Linked DNA regions of Homo sapiens: all the other regions are linked to region 2. Evidence: promoter capture Hi-C in 16 types of primary human blood cells and fetal thymus (Javierre and others, 2016). All regions are on one chromosome and are shown on one strand. Each heading gives the region's core, a stretch centred on a gene start or on the middle of the fragment in contact. The rest is flanking DNA. Distances are from core to core; before and after follow the strand shown. Region 1 holds the start of FAM3D (FAM3 metabolism regulating signaling molecule D). Region 2 holds the start of PTPRG (protein tyrosine phosphatase receptor type G). Region 3 holds the start of CFAP20DC-DT (CFAP20DC divergent transcript).

The links. Contacts are between HindIII fragments. The CHiCAGO score rates a contact against its expected background, and 5 or more counts as called.
Region 1: the fragment with the promoter of FAM3D here is called in contact with the fragment with the promoter of PTPRG in region 2 in 2 of 17 cell types (naive CD4 T cells and total CD4 T cells); the score reaches 7.8 in naive CD4 T cells.
Region 3: a fragment that was not itself captured here is called in contact with the fragment with the promoter of PTPRG in region 2 in 1 of 17 cell types (total CD4 T cells); the score reaches 5.8 in total CD4 T cells.

What each region holds. Positions count from the first base shown.
Region 1 is chr3:58,665,113-58,668,395 of GRCh38, reverse strand. It overlaps FAM3D (FAM3 metabolism regulating signaling molecule D), which reads left to right and starts at 1,622. Exons shown (of 10, transcript NM_138805.3): 1 at 1,622-1,820. It overlaps LOC105377109 (a long non-coding RNA gene), which reads right to left. Exons shown (of 3, transcript XR_940879.3): 2 at 488-843. The HindIII fragment of the contact is 2,625 bases long and covers 82-2,706 here.
Region 2 is chr3:61,560,041-61,563,157 of GRCh38, reverse strand. PTPRG (protein tyrosine phosphatase receptor type G) reads right to left here and starts at 1,587. Exons shown (of 30, transcript NM_002841.4): 1 at 786-1,587. The coding sequence starts at 870. RefSeq lists an enhancer at 2,810-3,117. The HindIII fragment of the contact is 7,216 bases long and covers 1-3,117 here.
Region 3 is chr3:59,083,535-59,087,101 of GRCh38, reverse strand. It overlaps CFAP20DC-DT (CFAP20DC divergent transcript), which reads right to left and starts at 262. Exons shown (of 7, transcript XR_002959675.2): 1 at 180-262. The HindIII fragment of the contact is 2,321 bases long and covers 291-2,611 here.

The DNA.
Region 1 (3,283 bases), core at 373-2,872, 2.9 Mb after region 2:
CTCTTCCCCAGAAATCATTTACTCTCCACTACGGTGCTGACACCCCACCCCTCTCTCCCTTGTGAAGAGGGTATACAAGCTTCTAAATCTTACTGGGTGTGGGGAATTCCTTTTCTTTCCTGGGATGCCCCCATGCATGTGATAAATGTCTGTACCTTTTCTCCTGTTATTCTCCCTGCTGTCAGTTTAATTCCTGACCAGCCAAGGCAGCTAGAAGGGTAGAGAAAGCCATTTTTACTCCCCTACACTTGTGTGCTTATTTATATTGGAAGTGAGGGTCAGGAGGGCCCCCCTGAGGAAGTGACACTGCAGGTCAGGTCTGAACAAGACCCAGGCACCAGTTATGGGCAGAACCGTCCTAGCAGAATAAGGGAGAGCAAGAGGCAAGGAGATGGGACAGAGGACAGGACCAGTCCTAAAGCCAGTCAGAGTGAAGGAAAGCACTGCCTCGCCCTGGGATACATCCTGAGGGGGCCCACGTGCCTACCTGGGGATGGGCAGCTGGAACAGCAGAACTGGGGCCACTCCCGGCACCTCATCACACAGGGTCCGCTCCCTGCTCTTCCCTTGCACCAGCTCCCTGGGCATGCATCTTCATTTCCTGACCAGCTGCTGGACCTCATGCCCCTGAATATTCCTTCCAAGTGGGCCACACAGCCTACGGAAGCATTCAGAGTCAGCAAACAAGGGAGGAAGTTGCCAGGAGCCTGTGTGCCAAGGACCGAGGCAAGAACTCCTCCTAAGAGGAAAGCGCTTGGGAAAGAGACCATGATTTGTGACAAAGACTGGGAGTGCTGGATCAGGGGAGGGGGAAGCTGAGCCCCTCTCAGTGCACCTTGGGTCCTAAGGAGAGAGAAGGGAGACAAAGGCTGCATTCACCATTTCACTAAAAGTCTGCCACTGAGCAGCCCTTCTTTTCTTTCTCCGTCTTTCCCTTTCTCCACACCCCACCCCCTCCACCTTTAACCTCTAATTCAATATGCCCCACCCAAATCCAGAATCTTTTCCCAAACCACTTCCTCTCCCCCATCTTCCTCACTCTTGACCAAGAAGCCTCCCTTTTCCATCATCCAAGCTCAATATCTTGCAGTTGCCTTTGACCTCCTCCATCTTTCCTGTCCTGAGTTTCTTGCCTGGGTTCCCCTCTTTCCAGTCAGCCCCTCCAGCACCCCCCCACACTCTAGTCCAGAACCTCAAAGCAGGTGATCATCAGCTGCAGTTACTCGCTCTACCAGCCCCACACCTCCCAGCGCCTGGGGAGGTTGTTAGCACAGGGTCGGGTTTTTTGTAAGGTTTTTTGGCTGTTTTCGAAGGCAGATTGTGGTATCTCATTCCTGATTAAGTTGCTTGAATTCCCACCCAAACCTCCCTTGCCAAGGTCAGGATAGCTCTACAGGAAGGGAACAGGCATGGCCCTTCTCCCCAGGCCCCAGCCAGGCCCTAAGCCACTCCTCAGCCAGGCAAGACTTTAGACTCATTTCCTGCCCCGTGAGCACTTAGAATAAACTTCCTCCTTCCTTGTGAGATTGTTTAACAGGGCAGGGAGAGTTGATGGCAAACTTCCTCAAAGGAGGGGCAGAGCCTGCGCAGGGCAGGAGCAGCTGGCCCACTGGCGGCCCGCAACACTCCGTCTCACCCTCTGGGCCCACTGCATCTAGAGGAGGGCCGTCTGTGAGGCCACTACCCCTCCAGCAACTGGGAGGTGGGACTGTCAGAAGCTGGCCCAGGGTGGTGGTCAGCTGGGTCAGGGACCTACGGCACCTGCTGGACCACCTCGCCTTCTCCATCGAAGCAGGGAAGTGGGAGCCTCGAGCCCTCGGGTACGTCCCCCCAAGAATGGAAAGGGCTATGGTTCCAGGTACACATGATTGACAGAGGGGAAAATGGAGGTGGGGAGGGTGGGAAATAGGAGTGAAAGAGCCTGAGACAGAATGATGAAAGGAAAGAAAGAAGGAAACCACATAATCGAAGAGATTCCTGAGATCAGACTCAGGAAGGCAAATAGATTTCATCTGAGGCACCAGGCCTGATCAATGAAATTAGACTGTGATAAAAAGGATTCTGGGGCTGGGTTCGGGCTCAGGCAAAAGCATGCTATGATTGATTAGCTATGTCTGCCATGGGCACAAGAAGGAGCTGTAGGGCATGCCAGCTAGGGATTTGATAACCCACACTGCAGGGTTTTTTCCTTAACCACAGGGGCCCCTCAACATTTATTCTTTCATTCACTCATCTATTGATTCAAAAAAACACATTCCAATGATCAACAGTGAGCCACACAAATATTTGAAAAATGAATAAAAAAGAAAGGAATGTTGTTCTTTGGCCCCAAATCTCATTTTTCTCATAAGGTAATGATCTGAAAAGTTATGACAAAGGTGCATGGACTTGAGAGATTTTCTAGCTATGTAATATTGAGCTAGTCCCTTTCACTAAGACTCAGTTTCCTCATCTGTAAAATGGGAGAGAGAGTCTGAATATCCCCCATCAATCGCTGAAGTTCTCATTGTCTACGCAACTATGATAATCATCACTGAAGTACATAAAATAACATGTATGATGTGCTAAGTGCTCTCCATATAATAACACATTTAATCTTCCTATCACCTCTACAAGGAAAGCACCATGATTATTCCCACTCTGCAGACGGAGAGCCAAGGCAGTGAGAGATTTAATAACTTCCCCAGGCAATCTGGCTGCAAAGCTTTTGCTCCTGCCCACTATGCCACACTGACTCTACACTGCAGTGGATTCTGAGTCCATGGCTGGAAGTGGGCTGCCTGGGTACAAGAGTGTCCTTCTAGATGATTCATCCAGTGAGCATTAATTGGGTCAGGTAAAAAAGACACAATGATTAACAAGATGAGGTATCATACATGGTTCTAACCAGAAAGGGAAAACTTGCACAGATAGTCATTTTCAAAACAGTTTGACATACACCATGGAGATAGCCTGGGAGTCAGGGCAGACTTCTCCCAAGAGAATGCCGGGTCCTTCAGGAGTGAAGGGCAGGGGAGGAAAAGATTGGGTCAGTGGAGAATCTCTGAGAAGGGGGAACAGGAGGAAAGAAAGAGGAGGGCAGAGCAGCTCAAGCAGGAAAGGGGTAGTAGCTGGTGGTGGAAGGTGAAGTCAGTGAGGTTGTTGCGCCCAGGTCTGCACAGGCTAGGGAGGAGTTTGCCATTGCTCAGCATCTGCCCAAATCTGTGCATCTGCCTGTCTGCCCTTGGGCACCTGGAGGTTTAGGGGCTTCTGTCTTATGGCCATGGTGTGCACACCTCTTCCT
Region 2 (3,117 bases), core at 338-2,837:
GGCCGCCGAAACCGCCCCCGCCCCCTCCCCGCGTCCAGACCCAGGCAATCCAATCGAGCAGAGCAGCGGAGGGAAAGGGCCACGGGCCGGGGCTAGGGGAGACACGGATCTCTCCGAAACCGCCTGCGCCCTGCCGTCTCACTGCGCCCAAGGAGGCTGCCTCACGCCGGCACCGAAGTGCTGCCCGCGCCCCAGCCCCCAGAGAGAGGGAGGACGCCCCCGACCCAGAACGCAGGCTGCTCCCCACACATCCTCAGTCCTCCGCAGCCAGCCTCCGACTTCCATTCCCCGAAACCTAGCCCTCCCAAAGGGATGGAGAACAGCAAAGCAAACCCCCACCTTCTGAGTTCCTTCAATACCCGCCAGAGCGAGGGGGCTCATCCCGGGCCCCCCAAACCCACAGAAGCATCCTTTCCATGGCCTCAGTCTCCCCAACCGCCCCACAACTCGAGTTCTCCCGATCGGCGACGAGTCAGCAAAGCAAGTCCCCCTTTCTCCCGATTCCAGCTCCCCAGGACCCCCAAAAGGGAGCGGGAGCAGACCCCCGCGTCCCCCAGCCCCCTCCCCGGCCAGCCCCTGCCTCCACCTTCCTCGACCACTAGCCTGCCTCCCTAAACATCATCCAAGCCAGCGGAGCAATCCTTTTCTCCTATCCGGGCGCCGGGCCACCCTCCACCCTCTCCAGGGTCTCCCGGACGGGCGCCGGAGCTCCGCGCCCAGGCGACAACTCCGCATCCCCAACGCGCGCCGGCCGGGGCCGCATCCCCTCGGCGGCCGGCACTCACCGGGGAAGCACACGACATAATGGAGCACGGAACTGGTGATTTTCAGGAACAAAATCCACCAACACGGTTCCAGTAACCTCCGCATGTCCGAAAACGCACATCGAAAAGAGGAAAGCAGGGAGGTAAACTTGTTGAATAAGTTCTTGCCTCCGTGCGAGCCTCCGCTAAGCCGGGGCGCTTCCCCGGCTCGCCCGCTCCACGGGCCCCCCGCGCTCGGCGGCCCGAGTCCCCTTGGAATCCGGGAAGCCGCCGAGCGCCCCCCGGAAAATCTCAAAAAGTGACCGGGAACGCAGAGCCACGCTGGGGACGATCCTCTCGGCGGAGAAAGGCTGCTTTCCGTTTAAAAAGGAGAGAGCCGATCGGGCAGGGCGCGGAGTCGGCGGCCGGCGGCGATGCCCCGGGCCTGGGGCAGGCAGGGACCGCGGGCGGCGGCGGCGAGCAGCCGAGGATCCCCAACTTGAGTCGGCAGCGCAGCACAGCCCGAGAGCCGGCGGGCGGCGGCGGGGCTGAGCGCGGCGCGGCGTCTCCGGGCTTCAGGCAGGCAGCTCCTTCCAGGGCCCCGGGAAGGAAGGAGGCATGTTTGCGAGAGGGGAAGGGGAGGGGAGAGGCAGGGGGAGCGGAGAGCCCCCCAAAATAGAAACGGCCGGAGGAAACGGAGGAAAACACAAAGGATCTCAGAGGGGCGCTGGGGCGAGGGCGCCTTCAGTCCATGCTCCTGAAAGTTGTGGCTCCGGCGCAGGCTGGGAAGGAACGAAGAGCGCGGGGCTGGAAACTGGCCATGCCTCCATACAGGAAGTAACATGTGAGCATGGATCCTGGCAGAGACTTTAAAGCCGGCGAGCGAAGGAGCGAGCGAACAGGGGGCGCGCGGTGGCGGCGGGGGCGCGCAGCCCGGGCCAGCTGGCGGCGGGCGCGCGCTCTCCGCGTTCTTAAAGCAGCCGCGCTTGGCTCCCGCCTTGCGCTGGGTCCCTCGGCTCTGCTCTCTCCGCGCGGCCTCTACTGGGACAGTTTGGGGACTGGGGGCGATTGTAGCCCGTGCGCGGAGAGAGGAGGGAGGCTGCCTTCTGGGGCCGGCTTGTTTTTTGCTGGATTCCCGTTGTTCGAGCTCTTAAAAGACGCCGCACGGTGCTCGGGTTTGGCGAGATCCTCCGCGCAGCTCGCGGATCCCGGACTTGAGGGGCCCCTCGCCCTGGCGAGGGGAAAGGGGGAGGGCGGACAGCTGCCTTTTTAAAGCGATGGGGTTTTCTGTTCGGCTTCACTGCCCTGGCATTTGCAGCGGTGAGGCTCACCGTCTGCGGCTCCTGTTCGCGCCTCCAACACAGCGCATTCCCCCGCCGGGAAACAAAGCCGAGCGGCCTTTGCACTCCGGCTACATTGAGATTTAATTTTTTTTTTTTTTCTTTTTCGGGCTTTCATTGGCCCAGTCCAAGGCTGGGGAAAGTGGGGGAGGGGAGGAATGTCGATCCCAGGATTGCGAAATCTAGCCCTTCCGAGCCCCGCATCCCCTTTCCCGGCGCCACGATGGATCGGTGGCGGAGTTTCCCCAACTCGCAGCTTCTCTGGAGAAGGTTCCCGCACCCCGGTTTGGCCGCGGGGAGGGCGCAGGAAGTGCGCCTCTTACACCCTGCAGGGTGAAAGCAGCGCCGCGGGGCCGGACTGATTTCCTGGCAGCTACCCGGGGAGCGGCTGCTTCTTTAGCAATCGGGGAGAGGCGTCCGGGGGAAATGGGAGGACTAGGCTTATCTGTAATGAGTTTTGTCCCTTGGCTCTCGGTAAGAAGATCTTTATCGCTTAGACTTCTAAGCGCCCTATTTTACATTCTTAACGCTGGGGCTAAAAGTGGGGGAGGCGGGCTTTCGAGTAAATGTGTAACTGAGCCAAGGTAATTAGCCGTTTGACATTTTTTGCCTAATTTTTCTGCCTGTGTTTCAAAGCGATCTTGACGTGGGATTGTTTTGTTTTGTTTTGAGACGGAGTCTCGCTCCGTCGCCCAGGCTGGAGTACAGTGGCTCGATTTCGGCTCACTACAACCTTCGCCTCCCGGGTTCGGGCGATTCTCCTGCCTCAGCCTCCCGAGTAGCTGGGACTACAGGCGCCCGCCACCACGCCCGGCTGATTATTTTTTTGGTGGTTTTTTTTGTTTGTTTTTTGTTTTATTTTGGTTTTTTTTGTAGAGGCGGGGTTTCACCGTTTTGGCAAGGCTGGTCTCGAACTCCTGACCTTGTGATCCGCCTGCCTCAGCCTCCCAAAGTGCTGAGATTACAGGCGTGAGCCACCGCGCATGGTTCTTGTGTTTTAAACGTGTCCCTGCTGTTTCATCCCAACACGGCAG
Region 3 (3,567 bases), core at 202-2,701, 2.5 Mb after region 2:
GAGTGGGGCATTGAACTAATACTACTTAATGGGCTAAAAGATAAATGGGTATATAATTACCAGGAGAAGGGAAAATAGGCAGTAAAAGAAAAATATTTCAATGGTACTGTAACAACTTCCATTGGTAACCCTGTTAGGCACTATGAGTTAGTGAACCTGATTAATTTGTAAACACTTACACTCAAGATGACAAGCCCCTGTCAGTATTATTCTCTTCTCACTAAGGGTGGGGAGTCTTTCTTAGCACTGCTCCCCAAAACACCTGTAAGTAAAAGGAAAAGAAGGAAGCTTGATTTGTTTGGGATGTTTTCACCAGAGAGATTAATGAATGTTATGTAAAAGATGAACTGACATAATTAATACATAAAATACTAACCTCTCAGATTCCCAAAAGAGAACCCATGGAAGTCAGAGCTCTGGTCTGCAAAGTATTTGATTGCTCATTGAAAAGCTATGAAATGCATTTGTTGTGGGTATAAAGAGAAATAAAAAGAGAACTCCTAGAGAAGTAAAGATTCAAGAATAATATTACAACACAGGACATTCATTAATGTTATTTATATTAAAATGAACCTGCCTGCTACTGTGGCCTGAGCTGGGTATAGAGACCTATTGAGGTGGAGCAACTACCCAAAAGGACCCCCTTCCAACCTAACAATTGCTACAAAGGCAAACATTCAGAACAGGTTTTCTTCAAAGGGTAAATAGAAAACAGTGGAGCTAGGTGCTAATCAAAGGCTAGCTTTTTCTTAGCAGCTATTCCGAAAACACTAAGCAAGTTTTCAACAATCCATCTAAAAGTGCAGTGTTATAAATTAATGGGTAATCATGATAATATGCATGTAATCACACAGTGATAGCATATAATAGCAATGGGTTAACTTTTACTCACTGTTTATGGAACGCCCTCTGAAATTCTTTATATCTTAGATCAGCAGTGGAACTATTTATTATGTGTATTGAATGAATAGATGCACGCATGAATAAAGGAAATGAATTAACTAGTAATTGAACTTTGGAAGTTTTCACACAGGGTAAATTTTCTATTACAAACTTTTATGTGTAAGAGTTGGAGTGTTTACTTATTGTTGGAAAACAGATTTGTTCTGTAAGCTCATTTCAGGCTGTGTTATGATGTTATTATTTAGTAAGGCTATAACACCTATACCATCCTAGCCTATACAGGATTTTTGGACAAGTTAGAAAGGTGTCCCTTAAGAATAGATGCAGCCCCCAGGGCATGTGACTTGGTGAAAAGATGGAGTCTTTGTATAAAGATAAAAGGTGGTTCATTCTCCGTAAGACTTGGGGAGATGGAGAGGGACCCGGCTGGATTTTTACCCCCATTATATCATCTGCGTTGAAAGCATTAAGTGGTACAGCTTTGGCCATCCTATAAAAATACAGAAAAATTATTAAGAAAGGAGCAAAAATCATGAATTTCTTGCTATTTTTGTATTGTGGAGTCACCTCCCTCAGGCTGCATTTTATTAGTAAAAGATATAGTCAATAGTTGTTTTAAAAAAACCTAATAGAATATATTTGAATGTTAAAAATTCAGATTTCCCTTTAATTATTTTTTCAACCTACTTTTTTTACTCAACCTGATTTTTCCTGACTGCTAGGTGAAATACAAATCTCAAAAAGGGTCATACACCTACAATTTATATATGATCACAAAAGCTCTCTAGTCTAATTTTATGGAAATTTTTCAAATTAAAATGTTATTGGGTTCAAGCAATTCTCCCGCCTCAGCCTCCTGAGTAGCTGGGATTACAAGCATGCCACCAAGCCTGGCTAATTTTTGTATTTTTAATAGAGACAGGGTTTCATCACGTTGGCCAGGCTGGTCTTGAACTCCTGACCTCAAGTGATGCATCTGCCTCGGAGGCTGCAGCGAGCCAAGATCGCACCACTGTACTCCAGCCTGGGCAACAGAGTGGGGAGACTCCGACTGAAAAAAAAGTGTTACTGGTATCCCAAAGATTATTTTTTACTCCTTCTTTTTTATCAGTAAAGGTTATTTTTCTTTGTTTACCCTATAACTTCCCAATGGCTACTGTGATCAACCAAAGTTCCCATTCTAATTCTAAGAGATGGGATACACTGAGAGCAAGAAAAATGGAGAAATAGTGATGGAGAATGGTAATGGAATCTATTTTATCCTGAAGCAATAACAAAATGAATTCAATTTGCACAAAAAGATTCTGATTTGCAGCCAAAGGACTAAAAAGGTCTTTCTGTTTACTTTTCATTAAGTAAGTATACATGCCATATTCTTTTCTGGCTAGCTTATAGCCATAAAATGAGCTTGCTCCTCCCAGATGTTAGATTCTGCAAGCTGAGGCTTGTTCTGCGTGTTGGAATGGAAAGAAGTGAACTGTGAGCCAGGACATTTTGAGTTCAGCTTTTTAATAGTTGTCTCCCAGTTTTCTTAGCTGTAAGATGGGTGGGAATTGGGCTAATAGGTGATCATCATAATAACAGCAGCTACCATTTTTGACAGCCTACTATGCCACACACCTACCACTAAATGAATACTTGAAATTATCTTATCTATTTCTTAGAAATCTAGTGAAGTAGGTGATTGCACAGGAGAGAAGCTAAAGCTTGGACCTGCCAGAGTCCCAGAACTTGTCAGGGCCCAAGATAGGGTCAGAGGTTTCAAAAGTCAGTCTTGGATTGCTTCTTGCCTATTTACATGCTGACTGACAAAGCAATCTGACAGGAATCTCAGACTAGAGCCGAGAAAAATGCAGGCTTTCTTTTTTCACATACCTAAATGTGTTTATTCTAGAAGCATATATGGAGCTTTCCTAACATGTTAGCTAGAAAGAAACATGATTTCTCTCTTAATAAGCACACTAAGGATGGCTGTGTAGAGTCGGGGAATATAAATAATCACTGCCAAATACACTGCTGTGTCATATACCAGATATTTACATTTATCATAGTGTAGATTCGGATTTCATTTTACACAACTCATATTTTTCTTAAGAATTGATAGGATGCAAAGAAGAAAATGACACAGGCTGTAAAGCCAATTCCAAAAGAAGCATTCTAGAGATATTTTGCAAAATTGTAGCATCATGAAACAAATGGATGGTTTCTGAAGTGGTTGCTCTAGATGGGAGATGGTAGGTAGGTTGAGGCAGGTTTGATTTTTAAAATCTGTCACCTGACCTCAAAGACACATTGATATATGAGTGCTTATTTATTTACTCATTCATTTAACAGAATGTATGGAGTGTTTATTGTTCTGGGCACTGGAGATACAACAGCAACCACAATGGAAATGGTTCCTCTGTCTTCACAGAACATACACGAAGACACAGAAAATAAACAAACAGAAAAATACAGAAAATAACTCCAGATTGAGATAAATTATTTGAAGGATCTACAATGCCCTTCCAGAGAATAATGCATAGAGAATGCAATACATTTTAGCTGGGGTAGTCAGAAAAGGCTTTCCTGAAATTTGAAGGATGAGAAGAAACTAAATATGAGAAGAACCACACTTGCAAAGGCCCCAGGTGGGAAAGTGTGGCAAGTTCTGGAAACTGTGAT